Regions from separate parts of the Homo sapiens genome. Here regions 2, 3 and 4 are each linked to region 1. The links are contacts of gene promoters, found by promoter capture Hi-C in blood cells and fetal thymus (Javierre and others, 2016). All regions are on one chromosome and are shown on one strand. The core of a region is centred on a gene start or on the middle of the fragment in contact, and the rest is flanking DNA. Distances in the headings are between cores, read along the strand shown. Region 1 holds the start of FOXRED2 (FAD dependent oxidoreductase domain containing 2). Region 2 overlaps APOL1 (apolipoprotein L1). Region 3 overlaps MYH9 (myosin heavy chain 9). Region 4 overlaps MYH9 (myosin heavy chain 9).

Region 1 (2,636 bases), core at 56-2,555:
CACTCCAGCCTGGGCGACAGAGTGAGACTCCGTCTTAAAAAAAAAAAAAAGCGAAATACCCTTTTTCGTCCATTCCTCCCATACCTACTGGCCAATCAAGGTGTGTGGTTCGTGTGGGGAAGGTCCCAGCTTCCGCAGGTGAGCTCTGGCACCGGCCTTACCTGCACTGATGCACCTGGCCCTTCTGGTCAGTTAGGATGAAGTAGTGGCCATTCCAGGCCTGTCGGTCCTTGTCCAGAGTGACGTGGGCGATGGTGGTGTTGTACTGGACACGGAGCCCCAGCGTGTCCGCGAAGTCACCCAGGTAGCGCACCATGTCGCGGGCGTCGGGGAAGTAGGCACGCGAGTAGTGTCTGAAGAGCAGCCGGGGGTCGTGGCTGAGCAGAGAGTTCCAGTCGTGGCGGAGGTTGAACTCGGCGTTAGCCTTGCCCGTGTACCGCTTGTTGATGCTGATGAGCTTGCGGTGCCGCGGGTAGCGTGTGAAGAAGCTGCCGGGCCGCGGGGCCCGCTCGAACACTGCGTAGTCGCGTCCAGCGCGCTGCAGGAAGTAGGCCATCTGCAGGCCCGCGGGCCCAGCGCCCAGCACGCAGTAGTCCCGGCGCGGGGGCACCGACAGCGCTGGGTGCAGGGCGATGGCCAGGAGCAGCCCCGGGGGACCCCACAACGGGGCCGCAGCGGAGAGGCCCATCCTGCAGCAGATCAGAGGGGTAAGGCCTCGCACCCGGCCCGGCGGCTGGGAGACACGAGGCCCAGAAAGAGGCGGGGCCTGCGGGAACTCTCACTGCAATCTGGGTCACGGCCAGGCCCAGAAGCCGTCCTCAGAGCTCATTTGCCCGGACTCCACCGTTTCAAGCTGGGACTTGGGGCTCCCCGGAATCCCGAGCCCCTCCATCTTATCTCCCTCAGGGTCTCCTTCCTCAGGGGCACCGGCTCCCCGCTTATGATTGTAGTAACCTCCACCCTGGGGAAGGAGAGCGTACTCCCCAATTTTCCCCTAATTTGAGGGTGCCCAACACCCCTTTGAACCACCCTCCAGGTTGGACCTTCCAGAGGCCTTGGCCCCTCTCCAGCGACCGGGTGGGAGCCTGAAGTGGGTGTGGCCTGCGTGCGCCCCGCCCCCTGCCAGGGTCCGCGCGCCCCAGGCTCTTCGGCCACGTGACAGGGATGCCGCGCACACCTGCCGCCCGCCCGCGTGCGCTTCAGGAGCCGCCAGGTCCCTACGCCCGCAGCTCCGGCCTCCCCGCCTCCGACCGAACCCTGAGAAACGCGCGAACCTCCCAGCCGCTCCGGCTGCAACCCGTGGTCTAATGAGGCCGCGCTTGGCTCGCTTGCTCCGCGGCGGCTCCGCCCCTCGCGCCCGGACCAATGGCAGGGGGCGGGGTCACGTGCGCGGCGCGCGGCACGCCGGGACCAGCTGGCAGGCTGCCTGCTCCGGCCCAGCGCGGGAGAGGCGCGCGCGTGCTGCGTTCGCTGCTCCGGGGGCTGGTAGAGGGGCCTGGGGCTAGCGCGCACCCGCGAGGGTGGAAGGTCTGGAGATCCGGGATGGGGAACTGGGTCCTTCGTTTTAAAAGGTGCCTCTCTACACGGAGGGAGGGGAGCACGTGATTTTTGGAGCTAATCCTAGCTCTCATATTCCATGAATGTAGCCAAACGCTAAAACTAGTTGGCCTACCCAGTTTTGTGGGACTGGAAACCAGCGTGGTGGAGCCAGGACCGATAAGCCAATTAACAAGCGTTTGCTACAGTGACTCAGTGTACTGCTTACCAAGTAACATACACGACTGTCCTAATCTTCCACCAAATAGGAGAGGTGGGCAAGGCATTGTTTCCGACATTTGGTAGCTGACTGGTCAAATGGAGACATAGGGATGAAGGGATATGTTTACAATCACAGGAAGTGGAGCCTGGAATTAAAACTCAGTGGAGGCAAGATAAATGGCAGGAGGAAGATAACGTGAACTGGATGATGAAGGTTGGCTTCCCAGGGGTGGCAAGTGGCCCCTGCATGAGATTTACATGGGGAGAAATACGAAGTCAGTGTAGGAACCTTCAAAGTCCAGTGAAATGGGGCTGAGTGTTCTTGGGGGAAGGGCAGGTGGAAAGAACTGCGAGCCTGCAGATTTGCATGGCTGGAGATTCTTTGAATTAAAAATCGTAGCTGGGGACTCCTTAGAAAAATTTTCCTGACCTCTCAGGCCTACAAGTACCTACCAAAGAATGTCATTTACTTTTTCTTTTTTTTTTTTTTTTGAGATGGAGTCTCACTCTGTCGCCCAGGCTGGAGTGCAGTGGCGTGATCTCGGCTCACTGCAAGCTCCACCTCCCAGGTTCACGCCATTTTTCTGCCCCAGCCTCCCTAGTAGCTGGGACTACAGGTGCCCGCCACCACACCCGGCTAATTTTTTGTATTTTTAGTAGAGACAGGGTTTCACTGTGTTAGCCAGGATGGTCTCGATCTCCTGACCTCGTGATCCGCCCGCCTCGGCCTCCCAAAGTGCTGGGATTACAGGCGTGAGCCACCGCGCCTGGCCGAATGTCATTTACTTTCTTCAGTCTGTGTCAACATCAGAGAAAAGCTCCCTCAGAGCAGAAATTGTCCAGTATCTGACATACGGAAGTTTAAGCATTTGTTGAAT
Region 2 (2,636 bases), core at 78-2,577, 240 kb before region 1:
TCTCTTATGCAATGGCTGTTATGCACTCCCACACTTTCCTCCAACCTTATCCTTTCTTCTTTCCAACTAGAGAGCAGTATCTTTATTGAGGATGCCATTAAGTATTTCAAGGAAAAAGTGAGCACACAGAATCTGCTACTCCTGCTGACTGATAATGAGGCCTGGAACGGATTCGTGGCTGCTGCTGAACTGCCCAGGTAAGCTCCATGGGGTTACCTCCATTGGGCACTCCGGCGATGCCACCCAGCTCTCCCCTGGGCTAGTTTTCCCTGACAGGCACACCTCCTCCAGGCAGCCCCCTCTGCTGGGCTTGAGGATGACCTTCTTGGCACTCCAGGAAGAATATTTCCTCCATGTCCTTCGCTGGCAGTGAGTAGCCTCAGGCTGAGGGGATAGGAAGCCCACAGGAACAGGGTCATTTCTGCCATCTGCTGGTGATGGGAACTTTGCCAGTTACTTTCTCACTTTCAGCCTTTCTTCATCAATGGAGTTTTATTGTGAGAAAAATGAGATCGTGCATGTAAAGTGCTTAGCATAATGACTGACACACAGTAGGTGCACAGTTAACGTTAACATCTTACAAGCTTGGTGGAAACAGAACCAGGGTTAAGGATCTTCTTCTTGAAGATGGGAGCCCAGCAGGACTTGACCTTTGGGACAAGTCAGAAAAATCCTGACCTAACCAATGTGTGTTCCTGGGGATGCTGGCTGGAGCCCTTTTTCTCATCTGAGGAATTCCATAAACACGGCAGGACCCTTCTGCTGGTCCAGGATGCCGAGAGGCTGGAGTGGAGTTGCACAGCGCTGGGTCTCTTTCCAGCTCTGTCTGTGTCCAGTCCCTGGGCTCTGGGCTTATGTCAGAGACTGGAAACTGTCATCAGTCTAATAGGAATAGCAACTCAATGTGATAGGAGTGTGGTGAAGGCCTTAGAGGCAACTCCAGGTCAAAGGTGGGGAACCAACACCAAGATCCTGCCCAAAGGCCCAGAGAGACCGGGATCAGCGTCAGAGCCTGGAGTCAGGATGGAGCAAGAGTCAGCCTTGGTTGTAGGACAAGCAGGAAGGCTGGGGCACCAGGGCTGGGACTAGGGTGTGGAAAGAGAGGCACCAAGGGCTTGAAACTTAAGGAGGTCATGAACTTGCAGAGGACATGTGAGTGGGAGAGGGATATTTCTTCCCTGTCTGGATGATCCCAACACTCATGGGCATATAGGGTCATGGTTGCCTGTGTCTCTCACACCACGCCTTGGAACTGGCAAGTTCTGGGCTACCCTTTGAGACCTTCTTCTCTTCTACACAGAGAAACCCCTGACATTGACAAGCAGTATGTCTTAGTGACCATTTTCATAGTAGAATTAGTTGCTGCCAATTTGTGTAATTTCAGGGATACTGAGCAGACTCACAACTTCCCAACCAAGGAGGAAAACACTTCCTCTACCATCTTGTCCAAATTCAGGTCTTTTCAGCATTAGCAATTTATATAGGTGGTTCTGAAAGTGTTTTGAATCTTCTAGAGGTTCCATAAAATTGCAAATGGCCTTGGTGTGCACACAGGTGAAGCTGTCACTACTAAGGCATCAGTTAGGCTGGTGACACCTGCGAGTGAGACCTGGAAGGTTGGGGGTGCAGGTGGTAGGTCAGGAGGCAGTAAGGTGGCTGGAGCGTCCATGTGGAGCCAGAATGAATAGCCAGATCTCCCACTCCAGTCAGCTGGGGCAGTGGCCAGAACCAGTAGCCTTCAGCCAGGTGAAAGGGCATGAGGCATTGGAAGGGAGCAGATGCCAGGCAAAGTGAACTCCTGTCTCTCCGGGGTTTTGTTTTTGTTTGAATTCAAAGTACTCAGAGATAGCCAGACTGCAATGTCTGAGGGCACCCTTACCTTTGACACCACCTGCAAATTTAAGGGGATTTCTAAATCCATCCTTTGATTTTGTAATTCACTGGAAGGACTCACATAACTCACTGAAAACTGCTATTTCACAATTGTGGTTGATCACACGGAAAGAACACAGATTAAAATCAGCCTAAGAAAGAGACACACGGGGCAGAGTTTGGGAGGGTTTTAAGTGTGAAGCTTCATTGTCCTCAGGACGCTGTGTTCTCCTGTGTGAATGTGGGACAAAACACATGCGGTGTTGCCAACCAGGGAAGCTCACCCAGTTAAGGAAAAATTCCTGTGAATCACATTAAACCAGAAATGAAGCCTTTTTTCAGGATTGTTGTTACAGGGGAGGGAGACTGAGCCCAGCTCCAAATATAGTAAAGACAGAGGGGGAGTCACAGCCAACACCAGGGTGGGGGCGGGAGATGGAACAGGACTGATAGGAGACACCAGAGTGGGGGGTTCCTGCTAAATTGGCCTAACAGGATTCTCACTAAAGGCAGGTCAGACACTCACCCATCAATGGTGGGGGTGAAGAGCATAATCAGATAGCAAAGCGTAATCAGACAGCAAGGGGGGAAGACCCTCCCTAAACTGACTTGGGGAGATTCTTGCTGAGCTGGGTGGTGCAGGTCCAGCAAGCAGTGGGTGGCTGTGGAAGGCCAAGGTCGGCGCCTAGTGGAGAAGAGGCTCAGAAGAGCCCAGCTGGAGTTGGTCAAGGAGAAAGTCCTTCTTTCTCAACCCATGCCTTAGT
Region 3 (2,636 bases), core at 49-2,548, 230 kb before region 1:
TCTTACGGTGGTCAAATTTATAAAGATAAGGAGCAGAGTGTTGGTTGTCAAGGGCTGGGGGAGGGAGAATGAGCAGTTCATGTTTACTGGGTACAAAGTGTCAGTTTTGCAAGAGAAGAGTTCTGTGGATGATGGTGGTTGTGCAACAATGTGAATGTAATTCCACGAAACTGTTCACCTAAAAATGGTTAAAAAGGCAATTTTAGGTTATGAATATCTTACAGTTAAAATCTTTAATTAAAGTCCTTTCAAAGCCCAACCTTTGCAGAAAAAAAATTATAGCACCTGAGCCCTTTTTGGTTTGCAGAACATTTTCACACACATAGTCATACATGCTTCAACGACGGCCCTGTGATAAAAACATTTATTAATTTGGCTTCCCAGAGGAGAAAACTAAGGTTCAAATGGGGTGAAACGGCCAGGTGTGGTGGCTCATGCCTGTAATCCCAGCATTTTGGGAAGCCGAGGCAGGTGGATCTCCTGAGGTCAGGAGTTCGAGACCACCCTGGCCAACATGGCAAAACCCCATCTCAACTAAAAATACAAAAATTAGCCAGGTGTGGTAGTGCACGCCTGTAGTCTCAGCTACTCAGAAGGCTGAGGCACGAGAATCACTTGAACCTGGGAGGCACAGGTTGCAGTGAGTCAAGATCGCTCCACTGCTCTCCAGCCTGGGTGACAGGGACTCTGTCTCAGAAAAAAAAAAAAAAAAATCCAGGTGTGGTGGCTCACGCCTGTAATCCCAACACTTTGGAGGTCAGGAGTTTCAGATCAGCCTGACCAACATGGTGAAACCCTGTCTCTACTAAAAATACAAAAAAATTAGTCAGGCATGGTGGCGGGCACCTGTAATCCCAGCTACTCGGGAGGCTGAGACAGAAGAATAGCTTGAACCTGGGAGGCGGAGGTTGCAGTGAGCTGAGATTGAGCCACTGCATTCCGGCCTGGGTGACAGAGTGAGACTCCATCTCAGGGAAAAAAAAAAAAAAAAGATTCTGACAAAATGCCATGAAGATCGTTTGTAGATCTTGTCTTGCTAAAGTGGAGTTGGATTCAGAGGGTTGGGGGCGGGGTCTGAAATAGTTTCTAAGCAGTTCTCACGTGGAGCCAACGCTTCTGGTGCAAGGACCGCCATCCAGCAGCAAAGATCCAGTGTACTTTACTTAACAGACAAGGAAGCTAGCCGGGAAGGGAGTGACTTGCCCAGGGTGACAGGGCAGGGTGGCACATAGGAAGCTAAGGGCCAGGGAATGTGCATGCAGCTGTTTTGCCAAAAATCGGTCACCTTCTTAAGCTGACCCAGATAGTGTCCACTTTTTTAAATTTTTTTATTTATTTATTTTGAGACAGAGTCTCACTCTCGCCCAGGCTAGAGTGCAGTGGCACAATCTTAGCTCACTGCAACCTCTGCCTCCCGGGTTCAAGCGATTCTCCTGCCTCAGCCTCCTGAGTAGCTGGGATTACAGGCACACACCACCACGCCCGGCTAATTTTTTTTGTATTTTTAGTAGAGATGTTGGCCAGGCTGGTCTTGAACTCCTGACCTCAGGTGATCCCCCTGCCTCAGCCTCCCAAAGTGCTGGGATTACAGGCGTGAGCCACCGTGCTCGGCCTTGAACCAAGGTTTCTAAGATGCTCTTAGCCTCCTTGGATCTGGCCTAGCCCACCTTTCCATCTTAGCTTTTCTGCACAACCGCCCACAGCTAGCTCAGCCTACGCCTCAGCCAATCTGGTTCCCGACGATGCAGAGCCGGCATTGGCTGCAGAAGCCAGGCCTAGTCCTGTCCAGGGCCCCCTGGCCGCAGACAAATGCTACAGACACGGCTCGTAGCACATGGTTCTCTTTATTGTGATGCTCAGTGGAAAACATCTGTAAACCAGCTTACTGTAGTGGTGACAGCTGCAACACATGCTAAGGCACTTTTATTATATAAAAAAGGGGGTAGGGTGGGAGTTTCACTCACTCCTTTGTGACAGCAACTGGGACCTGAATTCAGAGCTTTGTAGGCATATGCAGCTTTTATATCACTTCATGATTTGAGAGTTTGTTTCCTTTAAAAAAAAAAAATGCCTTCTTGCCGTAAGTCTCAATGCAGCATATACAAAACAGTTAGGAATACAAGTAAATTCGGCAACCAGTGTAGACCAGTGAGGACGAGCTACTCTCTTCTAAACAAAGGCAGTGAGAAAGACTCGGAATTTTATCATTTATTACAAGAAAGGGGAAAAAAGAAAACCTTATTTTGCTTTCAAAAATACCTGTGCAGGTGGCAGATTTTTAAACTATACTGAGTCAACGGTGCAGGTAAACCACCCTCGGGCCCAGTCCTAGAGTAGACACAAGATCGCCTGGGAGGGCCGCTGGCCCCTCTAACGCTCTGGCTGTCAGACTTGGGACAAGTCCCTTAACCATTAAATATATTTGGTCCCCAAGAGTGTTGGGAGAAGCCACTGGAAGGCTGCTGGCCTTTCCAGCTTGACCCCGACAGCCTTGCTGTGGCAGAGGCAGGCTGTCCTCGGTAAAGGAGGGGAGGGGGCATTGCACTTGAGACATTTTAGAATCAGGAGGGAGACAGCGGACAGTGGCGCTGCCTGGGACAGGGTGGGGAGGAATCCACTCCTCCCCCCACCCCAGC
Region 4 (2,636 bases), core at 56-2,555, 210 kb before region 1:
TAGGAAGTCTCAGAAGCTTCCAAAACCCACGGCACACAACAGAGCAATGCCAAAGCTCTCTAAACACGCTTCATGCAGTGGGGGCATCTAGCCACAGAGCAACAGGGGCCTGGAGGCTCAGGTTCCCGCAGGCACCAGACACGGCTCCCCTCGACCTGGTGACCTCAGGTCTAAAGGGCAGCAGCCAGTGCTGTAGTGTGACCCAGGCTCACCCGTGAGCTGAGAAGGCCTCGGTGTTCCGGTCAGACAGGCCGGCCCCTGACCGCCAGCCCTTGCCCGCCAGCCCCTGCCCATCACCTCCTGCTCGTCACCCCCTCACCTTCCAAGTCAGTGATCATTGCCTCATGCTTGTTCTTGAGCTTGGCGAGGCTCTTAGATTTCTCCTCCTCTTCTGTGAGGTTGGTGGTGAACTCAGCTATTCTGTCTTCCAGCAGTTTCTTTTCCTGGGGAGAGGGGAGTAGGCTGGCATTTAGTGTTGGTTGAGCACAGAACACTTGCTAGCCTCAAAGCATGACTCGCCCGGAAATCTGGGGCTGAATGGAGAGGGCTTTAGACGCTTGATCAAGTTCATTAGGATTTTCCTAGATCAAAGGATAATTTTGAAAGGTCACGAGCTCCCCTGAAACAGCGAGGTACGCTTCCTTAGAACCAAAAAATGTGGGTGCCCAAGCCCTTCCCCTTCCCCTGTGGGCTTGGGTGAGAAAGGATTCCAGGTGACAGCTAGTGTCAGCAGGGACAGATGGCTCCACTCCTTCAAGAGGCTGCCACACGGCGCTCACCTGCGCCACCAGGCCACCTTCTCCGTGCCCCTCTCTCACCTGCCAGGTGGGCCACGGCCCCTCCCCCTCTTCAGCCCCGCGGTGCCCCGGGCTGCTCTCCTTGCTTTCTGTTCTGTGTGGCCCCTGCAACACCCCTGCCCAGCGGCCACAGCTCGGCACAAGCACCTGAGTCCCCTCATCCCAGTCCCGGGTGGGCGTCCTGCCACCTCAGCCTCCCCAGCCTTTGGGGCTCCCATGTTCTGAGGAGGCCCGAAAGGTGGGGAGGCTGCCTTCTCCTGCCTTCTCCTCTAACTGGTTCCCCGGCTGCTATCTGCTCCCTGGGCAGACACCGACAGGGACCCAACTCATTCTCAAGAGGAATAGCTGCCGCCCAGGGACAGTGGAGGAAGAGTACCCCGTATCTCAACACAGAGCCACCAAGGTGTCCCCAACCCCACAGTGACCAACACTTGCAATGCTGCACAGATGGCCACCTTTACACAGGCTCGGGTCTCACGGCTGGCAAAGAAGAGCTTTCCAGAGGGGAAAGGACAAACCCTTCCCCAGGGCCCCTTTGCTTATGAGGAAATCCCTCAACTAAGGCCCATGGGACCTCCAGGGAGCACTTGCAGTTAAGCAGAAGCCCTCATGCTGCAGGCAGAAGAGACAGGAAGCAGCAGCAGCGGGGAGCCAGGCCCTGCAAGGGTGACCACACTCTCCCATCCACGGCGCCCCTGGAGCAGCGGCAGGCGACAGCCACGGGCCTCACCTTGGCCAGCTTGCAGTTCTGGTCCTCCAGGATGATCTGCTCCTCCTCCAGCTTTTTCAGCTTCGCCTCGGTGGTCACCTTCTCCAGCTGCAGCTTCTGCCGGGCGCTCTCCTCCTCCTCCAGCTGCTCCTCAAGCTCCTGCCGGGGGCCAGAGACACGGTAAGGACAGCAGGCCCAGAGGCATGGCCAAGGTGAAGGCAGCAAGGTCCGAAGGCCAGATCCAAACGCCAAGGAGAAAATAGCAAGGTCTGTGAGCCCAGGGCCATGGCTGAGGTGGGGACGGCAAGGTCCGCCAGCCCAGGGCCACAGCCGAGGCAGGGCCCAAGCCCCATTTGTAGGATTCCAGATTTCAAACTGGGACACAGGGCCAGAACATCGGTGCAATGTTCTGAAGGGTTTCCTGCAGCAAGCTCCCACCCATGAAACAGGCAGGACGCAGAGGTGCTGGCCCTGTGCCCCTTCGGCTAGCCAGGGCCAGGGCTAATGGCAGGGAAATCAAATTGGCCTTGATGCTGGCCCAGGCAGTGCTCATGGAGATCTCAGATGCACATGTCACAAACTACCAGCCCAAAGGGAACACCTCTCACTGAGAGCCCCAAGCAGATTGCGTGAGGAGCAGCCTCCTTGGACCCTAATTCCATGTTCTCCCAGCTCCTGGTTCCTGCTCCTCCGCCCCGCCCTGCCCCTCCGGCGCCACCCCTCCCCGGGTGCAGCGGGCAGGAACCTGGATGTTCTGCTGCATCTTCTTCTTCTCCGCCTGCAGGTGCTGGCAGCGCTCCTCCTCCTCCTCCACCCTGGCCTCTAGGTCATGGCAGATCTCTTCTAATTCCTGCTTCTTGGCGGTCAGGCGGGCCCGGAGCTCCTCAGCCTCGGCACACAGCTCGGTTTCTGCCTGGAGCTGCTCCTGCAGCTGCAATTTCTCTGCCATGAGCTGCAAACAACAAGTGGAAAACACAAGCTCCTCGCAACACCCTCAAGCCACTCCATCCTCAAGGACGGACGCCATGGCTCGGGATCCCAGAGGGAAAGGAACATGCAGACAAAAGTAGCTTTCATCTGGAGAGCTCTGAAGCTTCCAGGTACCTTCCAGACATCGTGTCCTTGATTTT

Evidence for each region. The method cuts DNA at HindIII sites, captures the fragments that hold promoters and counts their contacts. A CHiCAGO score of 5 or more calls a contact.
Region 2: a fragment that was not itself captured here is called in contact with the fragment with the promoter of FOXRED2 in region 1 in 1 of 17 cell types (neutrophils); the score reaches 6.5 in neutrophils.
Region 3: a fragment that was not itself captured here is called in contact with the fragment with the promoter of FOXRED2 in region 1 in 1 of 17 cell types (activated CD4 T cells); the score reaches 5.2 in activated CD4 T cells.
Region 4: a fragment that was not itself captured here is called in contact with the fragment with the promoter of FOXRED2 in region 1 in 10 of 17 cell types (neutrophils, naive B cells, naive CD4 T cells and 7 more); the score reaches 9.7 in neutrophils.

Annotation. Positions count from the first base shown.
Region 1 is chr22:36,505,735-36,508,370 of GRCh38, forward strand. FOXRED2 (FAD dependent oxidoreductase domain containing 2) reads right to left here and starts at 1,306. Exons shown (of 9, transcript NM_001102371.2): 1 at 1,275-1,306; 2 at 162-689. The coding sequence starts at 688. RefSeq lists a silencer at 1,053-1,552. The HindIII fragment of the contact is 16,870 bases long and covers 1-2,636 here.
Region 2 is chr22:36,261,526-36,264,161 of GRCh38, forward strand. APOL1 (apolipoprotein L1) reads left to right here. Exons shown (of 6, transcript NM_003661.4): 5 at 71-197. Among named protein-coding and RNA genes, the nearest start is that of APOL1, 9.7 kb to the left of the region's middle. The HindIII fragment of the contact is 1,490 bases long and covers 583-2,072 here.
Region 3 is chr22:36,279,452-36,282,087 of GRCh38, forward strand. MYH9 (myosin heavy chain 9) reads right to left here. Exons shown (of 41, transcript NM_002473.6): 41 at 1,829-2,636. Among named protein-coding and RNA genes, the nearest start is that of MIR6819, 6.1 kb to the right of the region's middle. The HindIII fragment of the contact is 4,455 bases long and covers 1-2,636 here.
Region 4 is chr22:36,298,600-36,301,235 of GRCh38, forward strand. It overlaps MYH9 (myosin heavy chain 9), which reads right to left. Exons shown (of 41, transcript NM_002473.6): 22 at 2,252-2,458; 23 at 1,528-1,665; 24 at 320-443. Among named protein-coding and RNA genes, the nearest start is that of MIR6819, 13 kb to the left of the region's middle. RefSeq lists an enhancer at 1,357-2,556. The HindIII fragment of the contact is 2,583 bases long and covers 15-2,597 here.